Regions from separate parts of the Homo sapiens genome. Here region 2 is linked to region 1. The links are contacts of gene promoters, found by promoter capture Hi-C in blood cells and fetal thymus (Javierre and others, 2016). All regions are on one chromosome and are shown on one strand. Each heading gives the region's core, a stretch centred on a gene start or on the middle of the fragment in contact. The rest is flanking DNA. Distances are from core to core; before and after follow the strand shown. Region 1 holds the start of TRMT2B (tRNA methyltransferase 2B). Region 2 holds the start of XKRX (XK related X-linked).

Region 1 (6,947 bases), core at 1,631-4,130:
AACTGTAACTCCCAGCACTTTGGGAGACCAAGGCAGGAGGATTGCTTAAGGCCAAGAGTTTGAGACCAGTCTGGGCAACATAGCGAGATCCGGTCTCTACAAAAAGTTTTAAAAATTAGCCAGGTGTGGTGGCACACACCTGTAGTCCTAGCTACTTAGGAGGCTGAGACAGAAGGATCACAAGTCCAGCAGTTGAAGGCTGCAGTGAGCTATGATTGTGCCATTGCATTCCAGCCCGGGAGGGAGACCCTGTCTCCAAAAAAAAAAAAAAAAAAAAAAAAAGCCAGGCGGGGTGGCTCAGGCCTGTAATCTCAGCACTTTGGGAGGCCAAGGAGGGTGGATCACTTGAGGTTAGGAGTTCGAGACCAGCCTGGCCAACACGGTGAAACCCTGTCTACCAAAAATATACAAAATTAGCTGGGTGTGGTGGCGCACGCCTATAATCCCAGCTACTCAGCAGGCTGAGGCAGGAGAATTGCTTGAACCCGGGCAGAGGTTAAAGTGAACCGAGATCATACCACTGCACTCCAGCCTGGGCAAGAGACTCCTTCTCAAAAAAAAAAAAAAAAGTGTGTGGCCTGTGAGAATGTACGTATTCGATATGGAGGATGGCAAAAGCCAGAGAAAGGAAATGAATGAAGAGGCAAGAGACATAAAGAATGACATGGTGGGTCTGAGAAGGCCAGTGGCCTTGAAGCCCAGACTACAGGGGAAGGGAGTAGAGCTGATCCAGGAGAGGGGTCCTGTCCCTCCAGTCAGCAGGAAAGTCAGGAGGAAGGAAACTGCAGGCCCATTTGAGGATTTGCAGAGGAGGGACAAGGAAGCTGGGGAATTTGAAGATAGCTATTCCCACCCCAACGACATTTAGACTTTTTTGTGAGTGTGTGGGTCCTCTCACTGGTGACTCTGCCATGACTGTAGTTCATTTGCCCTATACCCCAGCAGGAGGGTCCTTGTCCATCTAGGTCTCTTCCAAATTATCAAGTATGGTTTAAAACAGGACCTTATTATTTCAAGGTGCCAACCAGCCATCATTCTAGGTAAAGAGCCTGTCATATTTAGTAACTTCTGTGGTGAAATTTCTTTTTCAAGGCAGCACACTCATACTAGTCAAGGTGAGTTCTGTTTCTTTCTTAATGTCAGGGGAGACATTTGTTCACAGAAGAGACTATTTTCTTTTTATATTTTGTCCTGTTTTAAATAAGTGCTTGGGGCCAGGTGCGGTGGCTCACGCCTGCAATCCCAGCACTTTGGGAGGCCGAGGCTGACAGGTCACCTGAGCTCAGGAGTTTGAGACCAACCTGACCAACATGGAGAAACCCTGTCTATACTAAAAGTACAAAATTAGCCGGGTGTGGTGGCGCACGCCTGTAATCCCAGCTACTCGGGAGGCTGAGGCAGGAGAATCGCTTGAACCTGGGAGGCAGAGGTTGCGGTGAGGCGAGATCACACCATTGCACTCCAGCCTGGGCAACAAGAGTGAAACTCTGTCTCAAAAATAAAAATAAAAAATAAAAAATAAATGCTTGGGGGCCAGGCTCGGTGGCTCTCGCTTGTAATCCCAGCACTTTGGGAGGCCGAGGCAGCCGGATCACAAGGTCAGGAGTTCGAGAGCAGCCTGACCAACAGAGTGAAACCCAGTCTCTACTAAAAATACAAAAATTAGCTGGGCGTGGTGGCAGGCGCCTGTAATCCTAGCTACTCCAGAGGCTGAGGCAGGAGAATCACTTGAACCCGGGAGGCGGAGGTTGCAGTGAGCCGAGATCGCACCACTGCACTCCAGCCTGGGTGACAAAGCTAGACTCCGTCTCAAACAAATAAAAAATAAAAATGCTTGGGAGTTTTTTCCTCAGCAAAAAAAAAAAAAAGCGTGTGAGCAGTCGTGCTCGACTGTTCTATACCTGCCTCAGGAATTGATCAGGAAGAGTCCTGGAGTCCAGAGTAGCCCAAATAGGAAGGCAGGCTAACTCTCCTGTGCTCAGAGAGGTTCAAATCAAAGAGACTATGTGGTAGGTCTCACCTGCGCAGGGCCAAGGATCCCTTTTGGAGCAAAATGTTCACCCACCGACAAGGGTCCTGCTTGCACTCTCTGCTCACCCTTCCTTCAGCTGGACCGGCTCCAGACACTATTCCTTGCTAAACCAAACAAGCAAATGGGTTGACTGCTGTGTCGTGTCCCGAATGCAGCCCACAGGCAGTCAGGTCCTTGTCTCCCCAACAAGACTCCACTAGCCCTTCCATTCCCTTCTTCTTTAGGCAAGTTCTGCCCACTGTGTCTGTAGGAAGGGTTAACAAAGAGGAGACACTAGGAAAGGCTACCACTAAACTTGGCCGGTCTGCAGGGCCCGGGAAGGACAGAAAGTAAGGGAGTGGGAGGAGTTAGGGCACAGGCCCACGCTGGGCCGTACACGACCTTGCGCAGTCACCGTCGGGTCCCGTCTCCAGCCCCGCCTGCCTCCTCCATTCCCCGCCCCGCGGACAGTTTGGCATAGTAGGGAGTTTTCTGTAAAGCAAGGGTTAAATCAGGTTTTCCGGGCTATTTATCCACCTTACCTTCCTTCGTAACCAATAAATCCTCTTACAAACCTGAGGCGGCAAACTAAAAGGCCAGCGGATGGCCTGGTTTGCTGCGGCGGGGAAACAGTCACTTCCTGGTGCGCAAGGCGCCTCTACTCCCGCCGCACGCGCAGCCAACCCTTGGCAAGCGCGGCGGGACACGGGGCTCCTCCCAGCGTCGGCGAGGCAGCAGGCTCCGGCACCTCGACTCCTCTCGGGGAGTACCCCTCCCTACTTTGCTGGGGGAACCTTCTATGGAGACCTTCCTTAAAAGCACTCATAGCCCTGACACCCGCCGCCTTCCTTCTCTAAGTTCTCCTCTCCTCCCCTCCCCGGGGCCCCGCCCACCACCTGCTCTTTCCTCACCGTCCCATTGGTGGATCTACATAAGAGACTCACGAAGACGTTCACACTGCAGTGTTAACTGCGTTAGCCATCCCAGGGGTGCTTGCAGTTTAAGTCTTCCAACTCAAGGAATAGTTTTCTCATGATAGAATTGCAGACATCAGATCCCTAACGGGTTGGAAGATTGGGAGATGAGAAACAGGGTGGTTCCGTGAAATGGCATCCTTTGGTAAAAGCCAGATCTATTCTGGGCCGTGGGGTTTCTCAAGCATTCATTCTCTTTTAACACTGCATCAGAAAAATACTTTATAGTTTCTTCACTGGATCCCACTCAAGACTATTAAATCCTAAACCCTCAGAAATAATCTTTTTCTTCAACTACAGAACTCAAAAAGAGGACAGATGTCTCTTTTTGGTTGATTCACTACCTCCTGGACTACATTCAGTAATACCTCTAATTTTTAGAGGAGTCATTAGCCCAGCCACGAGTAAGAAAACTTGAAGTATACACACATCTGTGTGCTGTAAAATATTGTTGCTTTAATAGAGTAAAATTTACAGCAAAGTGAACCTACCGAGGTGGGTGCAGTGGCTCACGCCTGTAATCCCAGCAGTTTGGGAGGCCGAGGCGGAAGGATCACCTGAGGTCAGGGGTTCGAGACCAGCCTGACCAACATGGTGAAACCCCATCTCTACTAAAAATACAAAAATTAGCTAGGCGTGGTGGCGCACGCCTGTAATCCCAGCTGCTCAGGAGGCTGAGGCAGGAGAGTCACTCGAACCCAGGTGGTGGAGGTTGCAGTGAGCTGAGATCATGCCATTGCATTCCAGCCTGGGCAAAAAGAGTGAAACTCCGTTTCAAAAAAAAAAAATAGTGAACGTACATTTAATGATATTTAATTTTTATGCTTAATAGTAATTGTGCTCAAGTGGAAAACACTTTGTAGTCAACATTTCATGTATTAATATTTATTCAAAGCATAACATGCCTATTATGTGCAAGGCAATGTGTTAGCCTTAGTGAGTACAGTAGTAAATTAAACAAGGCCCAATACTTCAAATAGCAGCAAACATTGAGTCAGTCAGAATAGGATTCAAAGCCCAGATCTGCCACTTATTTTCTATTTTTCTGTTTTTTGAGACAGAGTTTTGCTCTTGTTGCCCAGGCTAGAGTGCAATGGTGTGATCTCGGCTCACCGCAACCTCCGCCTCCCAGGTTCAAGCGATTCTCCTGCCTCAGCCTCCCGAGTAGCTGGGATTACAGGAGTGCACCATCACGCCCAGCTAATTTTTGTATTTTTAGTAGAGATGGAGTTTCACCACGTCGGTCAGGCTGGTCTCGATCTCCTGACCTCAGGTGATCCGCCTGCCTCGGCCTCCCAAAGTGCTGGGATTACAGGCATAAGCCACCACCCCCAGCAGATCTGCCACTGATAAGCTGTGTCCACTGAGCAAGTTATTTAATTACTCAGTGCTTCAGTTTCATCATCTGAAAAAAAATGTCCACAATAATTTTACCTACCTCATACGGTTGTGACAACGATTAAATGAGTTAATACACACAAAGTGCTTAGAATACAGTAAGTACACAAAGTTAGCTATTATCATTCAAAATAAGTTGATATACTGTGTGTTCATACATTCTGAAGAAAATAAAAATATTTTACCCCAAAATAAATGTATTTGCCATATGTTTGAAATGGCTGCCTCAGGACCAGAGGACTGAGATGGGGGAAATTTGCATCTGTAGAGAACCTCCTTGAATACAGCCAAGCTTCCCATTTCTATGCCTTACCTGGATCCAGGAGAGATTGAGAGTCTGACATCTTTAAAAGTTTGAAAAGAAGCATTTACCAGCTATTCTTTCGGAAGGAGGCTTCCTCTACATGACAAGGCCACCTTCACAAACCAAGTCTCTTCCTTTCTTCCATAACCTATCTTGCCACTAAAACCTGTTTTTGTATATACTCTGAGTTCGTCCACATTCTTTCTGTAATTTCTTACTTTTTTTTTTTGAGGTGGAGTCTCGCTCTGTCACCCAGGCTGGAGTGCAGTGGCGCGATCTCGGCTCACTGTTGCAAGCTCCGCCTCCCGGGTTCATGCCATTCTCCTGCCTCAGCCTCCCAAGTAGCTGGGACTACAGGCGCCCGCCACCACGCCTGGCTAATTTTTTGTATTTTTAGTAGTGACGGCGTTTCACCGTGTTAGCCAGGATGGTCTTGATCTCCCAACCTCGTGATCCACCCGCCTCGGCTTCCAAAAGTCCTGGGATTACAGCCGTGAGCCACCACGCCCGGCTTTTTTTTTTTTTGAGATGGAGTCTCGCTCTGTCACCCAGGCTGGAGTGCAGTGGCGCGATCTCGGCTCACTGCAACCTCTGCCTCCCGGGTTCGAGCGATTCTCCTGCCTCAGCCTCCCTAGTAGCTGGACTACAGGCTTGCACCACCACGCCCAGCTAATTTTTGTATTTTTAGTAGAGACGGGGTTTCAACATGTTGGCCAGGATGGTCTCGATCTCTTGACCTCGTGATCTGCCCGCCTCGGCCTCCCAAAGTGCTGGGATTACAGGCATGAGCCACGCCTGGTCTCTTTCTGTAATTTCAAGATGATATATAAGCTTCTGTTAATTATTGGGAGGTTGGGTCTCCATGATGAAGGCTCCCATGTGTACATGTTAAATAAATTTGTATGCCTTTTCTCCTATGAATCAGCCTCATATCAGTGATATTTTAGTGAACCTTCAGGGGCCAATGACTTTGGCCCCCACAACACACACACACACACACACACACACACACACACACACAAACACACACGTGTATGTTTCTTGTTTTTTAAAGAGAGATTTCACTTCCATCCTAAACCCTTGAGGAGGTAAATGTTTGACTCAAATTGCCACTATCCTAACTGCTCTCATGGCTCATAAGCAAAATTTGAACTCAAACCACTGCTTCAGCCTTCTAGGCCCATGCAGGGCTATCAAGTGAGACCAGGCCAGAGAATTTACCTTTGGCTCTATTTTCCCTTTCTCATCTTTTAATCCCCTCTTATATGGCTAGACAGCTCTACACCTTTTATCACCTCCTCTTCCCCTTTCTTCCCCTTCCCAAGCCCTTCTGCTCCTTTATCACTTCTCGTTTTGGCCTTCTGTGTTGTGCCTAGCACAGAATCAGGTGTCCCATACGAGCTCAATAAATATTAATATTTGATTAATTAAACTGAATTCCATCTTGTCTGCTGAAAGAGAGAAGGCATTTCCTCCCTCACCCCCACCTATTTTGAGCATCCAGGCAAATTCATTTAAAGCAGGCCTGTCATTCAAGGAGGAAAACCCTGAGGGGTAGAGAGAGAAAAGAGATTAAAGCAGCTATAATGTAATTATTTAGCCATTAACCCCTTTATATTTATTTAATCTGGTAAAGCATATTCTACTATAAAAGCGAAATCATTACATTTGTAAGAGGGGAAAGAAATACCCCGTATTATAGGAAAGGTTAGACCCTTCAACCAGAAAGTCAGTAAGTGGATATGTCATAGATGATAAGGAATATTGTTAACTCAAATAAGAGCTGGAACCAAGATAACCTTTTACTTAATTTTGTTATTAGCAAACCAAATCACAACAAAGTGAAATCCCTAGGAATTTGTCAAACATTCTCATTTTGGTGCAAGGAAAAGATAGCTGAGAGGCTACAGCATTCGCTCTCAGAAATAACATATTAAAATTTACCAAGCAGGAGCATCGCCATCTTGGACAAGCACCACAATTCTAAAGTTCTCCTTGATCAAAAACCACCTAAGGCCGGGTAAGGAGGCTCATGCCTGTAATCCCAGCACTTTGGGAGGCTGAGGCGGGCAGTATCACCTGAGGTCAGGAGTTCAAGACCAGCCTGGCCAACATGGTGAAACCCCGTCTCTACTAAAAATACAAAAAGTAGCTGGGCGTGGTGGTGCATGCCTGTAATCCCCGCTATTCAGGAGCTGAAACAGGAGAATTGCTTTTTTTTCTTCTTTTTTTCTTTTCTTTTCCTTTTTTTTTTTTTTTT
Region 2 (6,947 bases), core at 1,167-3,666, 120 kb before region 1:
GTTCCATCCTTAATTAGTTTCACAGACTTTTTAGTTGTCTAATGATGAGGTATCTTCCCATTGCAACACTCTGACCCATATTCCTCGGCTGACTGCAGTTGTCTGCCTCTCTTGCAATCAAGACAAACTTGGTCCATTCCTTACTCCTGAACTCATAAGTTTTGCAACATCTCTCTACCTTGAAAACCCCATAGCATCCAGATGAGACTGTTGACACAGGTGCCTATCTCGCTAGGATTAAGTGCATTCTTTCCACTTCAAGGCAATCTGAATGGAAATACTTGATACTATTAAATTGTGCTACTGCATCCACATAGAGAGATGAACTGCCTTCCTTTGCCCCCTCCCAACTTCGTATCTTTATTGCAGAAATATACAAAGAGATAAATAGGAAACTGATAAACCGACAGAGAACTGAACTATATTGGGTTGGGGTACAGATTACCACAGATGGTTTAAAATAGTTTCCAGATGTCACATTACTCTGGAAAATTTGAAAATGGCAGTAGCACCAGCCCAAGCAGCTCAGGGTAAAGAAACTTTTATCCAATTTACAAAGCATCCAAAAGGTAGAGTCAAAATTACACACTCAGACCAGGCGCGGTGGCTCACTTTGGGAGGCTGAGGCAGGAAGATCACTTGAGCCCAGTCTACATAACGAGATCCCGTCTCTACAAAAAAAATTTTTTTTTTTTTGAGATGGAGTCTCACTCTATCGCCCAGGCTGGAGTGCAGTGGCACCGATCTTGGCTCACTGCAACCTCTACCTTCCGGGTTCAAGTGATTCTCCTGCCTCAGCCACCAGAGTAGCTGGGATTACAGATATGCGCCACCACACCCAGCTGATTTTTAGTAGAGACAGGGGTTTCACCATGTTGGCCAGCTGGTCTTGAACTCCTGACCTCAGGTGATCCACCCGCCTCAGCCTCCCAAAGTGCTGGGATTACAGGCATGAGCCACCACACCCGGCCTATAAAAATTTTTTTTTAATTAACCAGGCATGGTGACACATTCCTTTGGTCCCAGCTACTTGGAGGCTGAGGTGGGAGGTTCGCTTGATCCCAGGAGATCAAGGCTGCAGTGAGCCATGATCGCACCACTGCACTGTAGCCTGGGAGGCAGAGCAAGACCTTGTCTCAGAAAAAAAAAATTTTTTAAATAAAATTACACACTCTGCAGCTATGGCCTTCATGCACAGGGTGATCACGTCTTGTTGTTCCCATTCTAGTTTACACAGGCCAAATAGCATCGTTCATTGTTTTGGAACACAAGTACATACCACATGTTCATCATGGTGGCATTTAAGATTTCAGGTAAGTTTTCTGAATGGTAGACAGGGAAGCCGAGAGTGGGAGGAAATGAGAGAATTGATTAGAGCCATAGTATCCATCTTGTAAATCTTTCATCTTTCTCTGCCCAAGTCTGGGGTGGGGTTAGGGGGGTAAGGAAAAGATTTAAAAGTTGCTCACCTGATAACAGGTCCCAAGAGGATTAGATGCATAAATAATGATAGCGGTTTATCTTTGGCTAGATCTCTGTGGACAAAAATGAGGGTCAACTGGACCATAATGGATGAAAACATAAAGAAAGAAAAGGTGTATGTCATCCAGTAAGTTTCACTATTCTTTCGATAGATTCTAACCATGTACAAAGCAGATGCAGCCTCCCCACAGTACAAAAAGGTGGAGAAAAGGATGCTAAATGGAAAAGTAAATCGGGGGTTGGCTCCACGGATGACATCTTCCTCCAGAGATGAAACCGGATCCACATTTGGCTCCTCAGGAATTTCATAAACTCTGTCCATTGTCGAGGTTCTTTCTGAATGTTGTGGTCTTGTGTTCATAGCACCCTCCCACCCATCCCCAAGAGAACCCTATGGCCGCTACAGTCCAAGTATAGGTGAGGAGAGCTCTGTCAAGTCCAGTTTGGGAACAGAGATTCACTAGTTAGAGCAAGAAACCGCTCTCTTCTAGACTCAGATTCGACTTGGAGTCTGGGATGGAAAGCCCAGGAGTACCACTTTGAACTTGACTCTTGATTGGCCCCGATTCCAATCGTCAACATACTTGCTGTGAAACTTGAACAAGACAAAAGCAAGCATCCCAGCGCCCCATCCAGAGTCCAACTCCAGGGACGTGAAGAGTCATGAGAACAGCGGCTTCCGTGGCGGCTCCTTTCGCAGCCCCTCAGGCAGGGTGTAGCCGATCTGTCGGGGGCACCGACACTCAGCAGCTCCTCACAAAGAGTCCTGACCAGTGTGTCCTCTCAAGTCAGCGGAGAGCTGAGCCAGGGCAGAAGAGCGGGCGCAGAAGAAGGAGGGCAGAAGAGGGGATTCAGTTCAGTGCCTAGGTATCCTAGCTATTGCTAGGCTGTAGCTATCAGCTGGCCCGCTCACCTGCGCGCTCTCAGGACCTTTGCCGAGTCCAGGGTTCTCAGGATAGCTCCTCGGATTCCCCCAAGCCCCGCCCCCAAGACCGCCTGGCCCGGGAGTGGAGTATTGTCACCACCCTGTCTCCGAATGCAGTGTTGAGGGACAGAAGCAGAGCGCGCTCGCTCTACAGGATGAAGAAAAGGCTGGAGGGGCTGCTTCTCCTCGGAGAAACTTTGCTAGTGAGAGGCACGATGTGCGGGGCGCCAACCTGGCTGGACGGAGGTCGCCAAACTCTTGGACGCCGTCTGCTGCCAGGGTCCTGCCTGGTCTGCGATTCCAGCTGCGAGAGGTCGGCAGCTTCAAAAACTAAGGCACCGGGACGGCGGGGGCGGGCGAGATGGGCGGGACGGCTGCGGCCAAACAAAACCAGCCGGAGAGTTCCCGGGCAGGCGGCCAGCCGAGGGATGCTCGTTGTGGAGTGGCGGGACAAAAAGGGGCTTGGGCCGCTCTTCAGAAGCACTTCTGACCACCACCTCCAGACCCAGGCAGGAGCCACAGCTTTACTCCTCCCTAGGAGCAGCAGGCCCCCACTTCTACCCCGCCCTCCCTAACTAGTTAAGTGACTTGCTTCAACACTCACTCTACCCACGCTGTTAGGCAGGTGTGTCTCCCTCCGCCGCAGGGTGGAACCTCCCTAGGTCCTATTGCCCTCCAGATAATATCATGAAGGGGGAACCTGGGAGGAATAGGGTCAGAGTTTTCGGCGGAGGGAAGATAGAACAGGATAAAGGTCAAGACTCAAGGTCAGCCCACAGACACTGAAAGCTCATATTTTATGCCTTGATTTCTCCACTTGCAAAATGAGGCCAGGATAGGAGCTTTAGAATGAACTTACAGGTCTTTGGTTGAAAGGTTATGAAGAGGTGCCAAATTCTAAACAGACTGGCAAAGAGCCAAGAGAGAGCTGTTAGTAAAAACTGAGAGGGGTGTCTTAAAGAGCTTTGAAAATTACCTGTATTCTTAAGTGTAATCCTCCCCACCTCACTGAGCTTTTGTTTTCATATCTTCATTTGCATAATTCTAAACCTCAGAGAAAAAGAGAACACATCTGCCTCCTGGTAATAATATAGATGAAGGCCAGGCACAGTGGTTCACGCCTGTAATCCCAGCACTTTGGGAGGCTGAGGCAGGCAGATCACTTGAGGTCAGGAGTTCGAAACCAGCCTGGCCAACGTGGTGAAACCCCATCTCTACTAAAAATACAAAAATCAGCTGGTCGTGGTGGTGCGTGACTGTAATCCCAGCTACTCAGGAGGCTGAGGCAGGAGAAAAACTTGAACCCGGACGGCAGAGGTTGCAGTGAGCTGAGATCACGCCACTGCACTCCAGCCTGGGCAACAGAGCAAGATTACGTCTTAATAATAATAATAATAATAATAATAATAATAATAATAATGATGATTATGTAGCAGAGCCTGTGCCAATCTCCTTTTGCTGCAGGAAGTCAGTAAAACAAATCTATGTGAGGAGTGGCCAAGTAGCAGCCACCAAAATAATGGCCTCCAGGTTGTCCTGTCATTATGTTGTTTTTTGTTTTTTTAAGGTTTCCATGATTGCTGCCTCCTTTCCCCAGGGCTGATTCAGGGACAGATTCAACATCTAAAGGTTGTCACCTTCTGAAGCAGACTCCGCATCTTGGTCTGCACCTATGCTAGCAGCTGGGCTAGGAGGCTGCTCCTTTCTCCTTTCCATTTCATGAAGGAGGTCAACACTATTGAGAACAACTTCAGAGAGTGTTCTTTTTCTTATTAGTTGGGACATTCCAACTGGGACAAGGTTCTCCACCACCAGTATATGGTGCAGAACCTCTTGGGGCTGCTCTAGGTAACTGTTCACAAGGTGAATCTCAGGCAAGGTGACCAATTAATCCCATTTCACTGGGATAGGGTGAGTTGGTCCCCCTAAACATGAGAGAGTCAGCCGGGCGCGGTAGCTCATGCCTGTAATCCCAGCATTTCGGGAGGCCAAGGTGGGTGAATGGCCTGAGATCAGGAGTTTGAGACCAGCCTGACCAACATGGTGAAATCCTGTCTCTACTAAAAATTCAAAAATTAGCTGGGCGTGGTGGTGGGCACCTGTAATCCCAGCTACTCGGGAGGCTGAGGCAGGACAACCCCTTGAACCCAGGAGGCAGAAGTTGCAGTGAGCCAAGATAGCACCATTGCACTCCAGCCTGGGTGACAAGAGTGAAACTCCATCTCAAAAAAATAAAAATTAAAAATAAAAAAAAAAAAAAACATGGGAGAGTAAAGCTAAGAAGAAGAATGTAGAATCCCAACGTTTACCTTTTAGCCTTTCCTCCTTCTTCTCCATGGCCTTGTCTCTCCCCAAATACAAAAATTTACAATGCCTTCCTACTTTGTTCCAAAATGACTCCTTCTGTCTGTCATTCAAGGCTCTATATAATCATCACACTACTTCCCTCTCAGATTTTATTGCCCACACTACTCCTTCCACAAGGCCAGCCAGTTTTCTCACTTCTCCTATTTGCGTTGCTCACTCCCACCTCTGCCTTGTTGATGCGATTTACAACCCCCTTCACCCTTTTCTCCATTAGTCCAAACCATAACTTTCTTTCAAGGGTCAGCCGAAGTGCTCCCACCTCCAAGAAGCCTTCTGTCACCTCCCCAACCCTCATTTTTCTCTCTTCATGCTACTGGCACATGCTCTCTCATACTAGTCCTTCAACTATTTCTGTGTTTGTCCTGCCTCCCCCCAAAAATGTAAAGTTAGTGAGGGAAGGATGCTCAATGACTGTTTATTGTGGCACTTGTTGATGACAATGGTGATTGACAAATGGTGATGATGATGACGCTTCCTCCCCCATACTTCCTCCTTGAAACCATGCAAGACTCAGACACACTCATCTCTAAAAGCTGTGGCCACTGTAGCTGGGGCATAAACTCCTCTGGCTGAATGAGCACTGTCTCATTCAGCCATCAGCTCACAGAGGTTCCCAGACCACATGATCTGTCCCTTCTCAAGGATTTCTATAGCATTCTTTTGTTTATACCAGAGTGTAGCACCAAAATTATTTCAAGTATATTAATTTTTATTCCCCAACTAAATTATCACGGGCTCCTTGAGGGCAGAGCCCTTATTACTGTACTTTTGTTGGACTCCCCCATGACTGGTATAGACCTGTAAAGTTCCTGTCATCTGATCACCCTCACCCACCAACTTCTCTATTTTCAGCCCTAGGATTCTCTGGCGCTTTAGGTCACTAAATCCTCTGGTCTCTTATTTCCCCGTTCCTTTGCCCTGCTGGGAGTAGCTAACTGAGAATTTGCTGTTTCTGTCCAAACACTCTTTGCTCTCTCAGGCCATCTCAAGATTCCAGCTCTTTACTCTTCTTGGGACTAAAGATGCTGGAAATGTTGGCAGTCATAAGGCTGCTGAGGCTCTAGGAACCCCTGTCCCATTAAAAGCACTGATCTCCCACAGACTAGTCATCTGAGGTGACACCTAGGCTGCCTCCTGAATGCCAGGTAGTGTTCAAGCATAAATTTCTCCTCCTGAGAAGCACTAGAATTCTGCAAGAAAGGGGAAGAACAAGATCTGACTCCTTACCACTCTATTTCCAACCACTGACTCAACAGGAACAAAGAGCGCATCTAAAAGCCATGTGGTCTAAAAGCTCTTGGCATCTTTATCAGCATTCAGAATCCCTCTATAAGGCTCAGGGATGGGGTTGAGCTTTCCAAGCCTCTGCAGCCTGAAGACTGCCCAAAAGCCTCCAAGGAATGGATGTGTAAGAGGTGCGTGGCATCCATGAGGAAAGAGGAGAGGAAGGACAGAGATGTGCAGCAAGTGGCTGACAGTCCAGTCACAGAACACTTATTGGTGGGAGGTGATGGGCAAGGCCCAGAGAATCAATAGCCAGAATGGAAGATGGCTTCCCTCTAAAGAATGCTCAGTTTGGGCTGTTAGAATGCTTAAAAGATATCTAGAGGCCAGGCATGGTGGCTCACACCTGTAATCCCAGCGCTTTGGGAGACTGAGGTGGGAGGATTGCTTGAGCCCAGGAGTTTGAGACCAACCTGGGCAACAAAGTGAGACCCTGTCTCTACAAAAAAGTAAAAACAAAATTAGCTGGGCATGGTGACACACACCTGTAGTCCTAGCTACTCTGGAGGCTGAAGTGGGGAGGATCGCTTGAGCCCGGGAGGTTGAAGCTGCAGTGAGTTGTGACTGTGCCACTGCACTCCAACCTGGGCAACAGAGCAACTCTGTCTCAAAAAAAAAAAAGAAAAAGAAAAAGAAAAAAAGCCAGGCGCAGTGGTTCACACCTGTTAATCCCAGCACTTTAGGAGGCCGAGGTGGGTAGATCACCTGAGGTCAGCAGTTCAAGACCAGACTGGGCAACATGGTGAAACCCCATTTCTACTAAAAATACAAAAATTAGCCAGGTGTGGTGGCACACATCTGTAATCCTAGCAACTCCGGAGGCTGAGGCACAAGAATCGCTTGAACCCAGGAGGTAGAGGTTGCAGTGAACCGAGATTGTGCCATTGCA

The links. Contacts are between HindIII fragments. The CHiCAGO score rates a contact against its expected background, and 5 or more counts as called.
Region 2: a contact is called between the fragment with the promoter of XKRX here and the fragment with the promoter of TRMT2B in region 1, in 5 of 17 cell types (total B cells, naive CD8 T cells, endothelial precursors and 2 more). The highest score is 5.8, in total B cells.

The regions. Positions count from the first base shown.
Region 1 is chrX:101,049,231-101,056,177 of GRCh38, forward strand. TRMT2B (tRNA methyltransferase 2B) reads right to left here and starts at 2,881. Exons shown (of 14, transcript NM_024917.6): 1 at 2,587-2,881; 2 at 2,021-2,503. The HindIII fragment of the contact is 12,653 bases long and covers 1-4,673 here.
Region 2 is chrX:100,926,501-100,933,447 of GRCh38, forward strand. XKRX (XK related X-linked) reads right to left here and starts at 2,417. Exons shown (of 3, transcript NM_212559.3): 1 at 1,470-2,417. The coding sequence starts at 1,804. RefSeq lists enhancers at 621-1,820, 3,014-3,063. The HindIII fragment of the contact is 22,335 bases long and covers 1-6,947 here.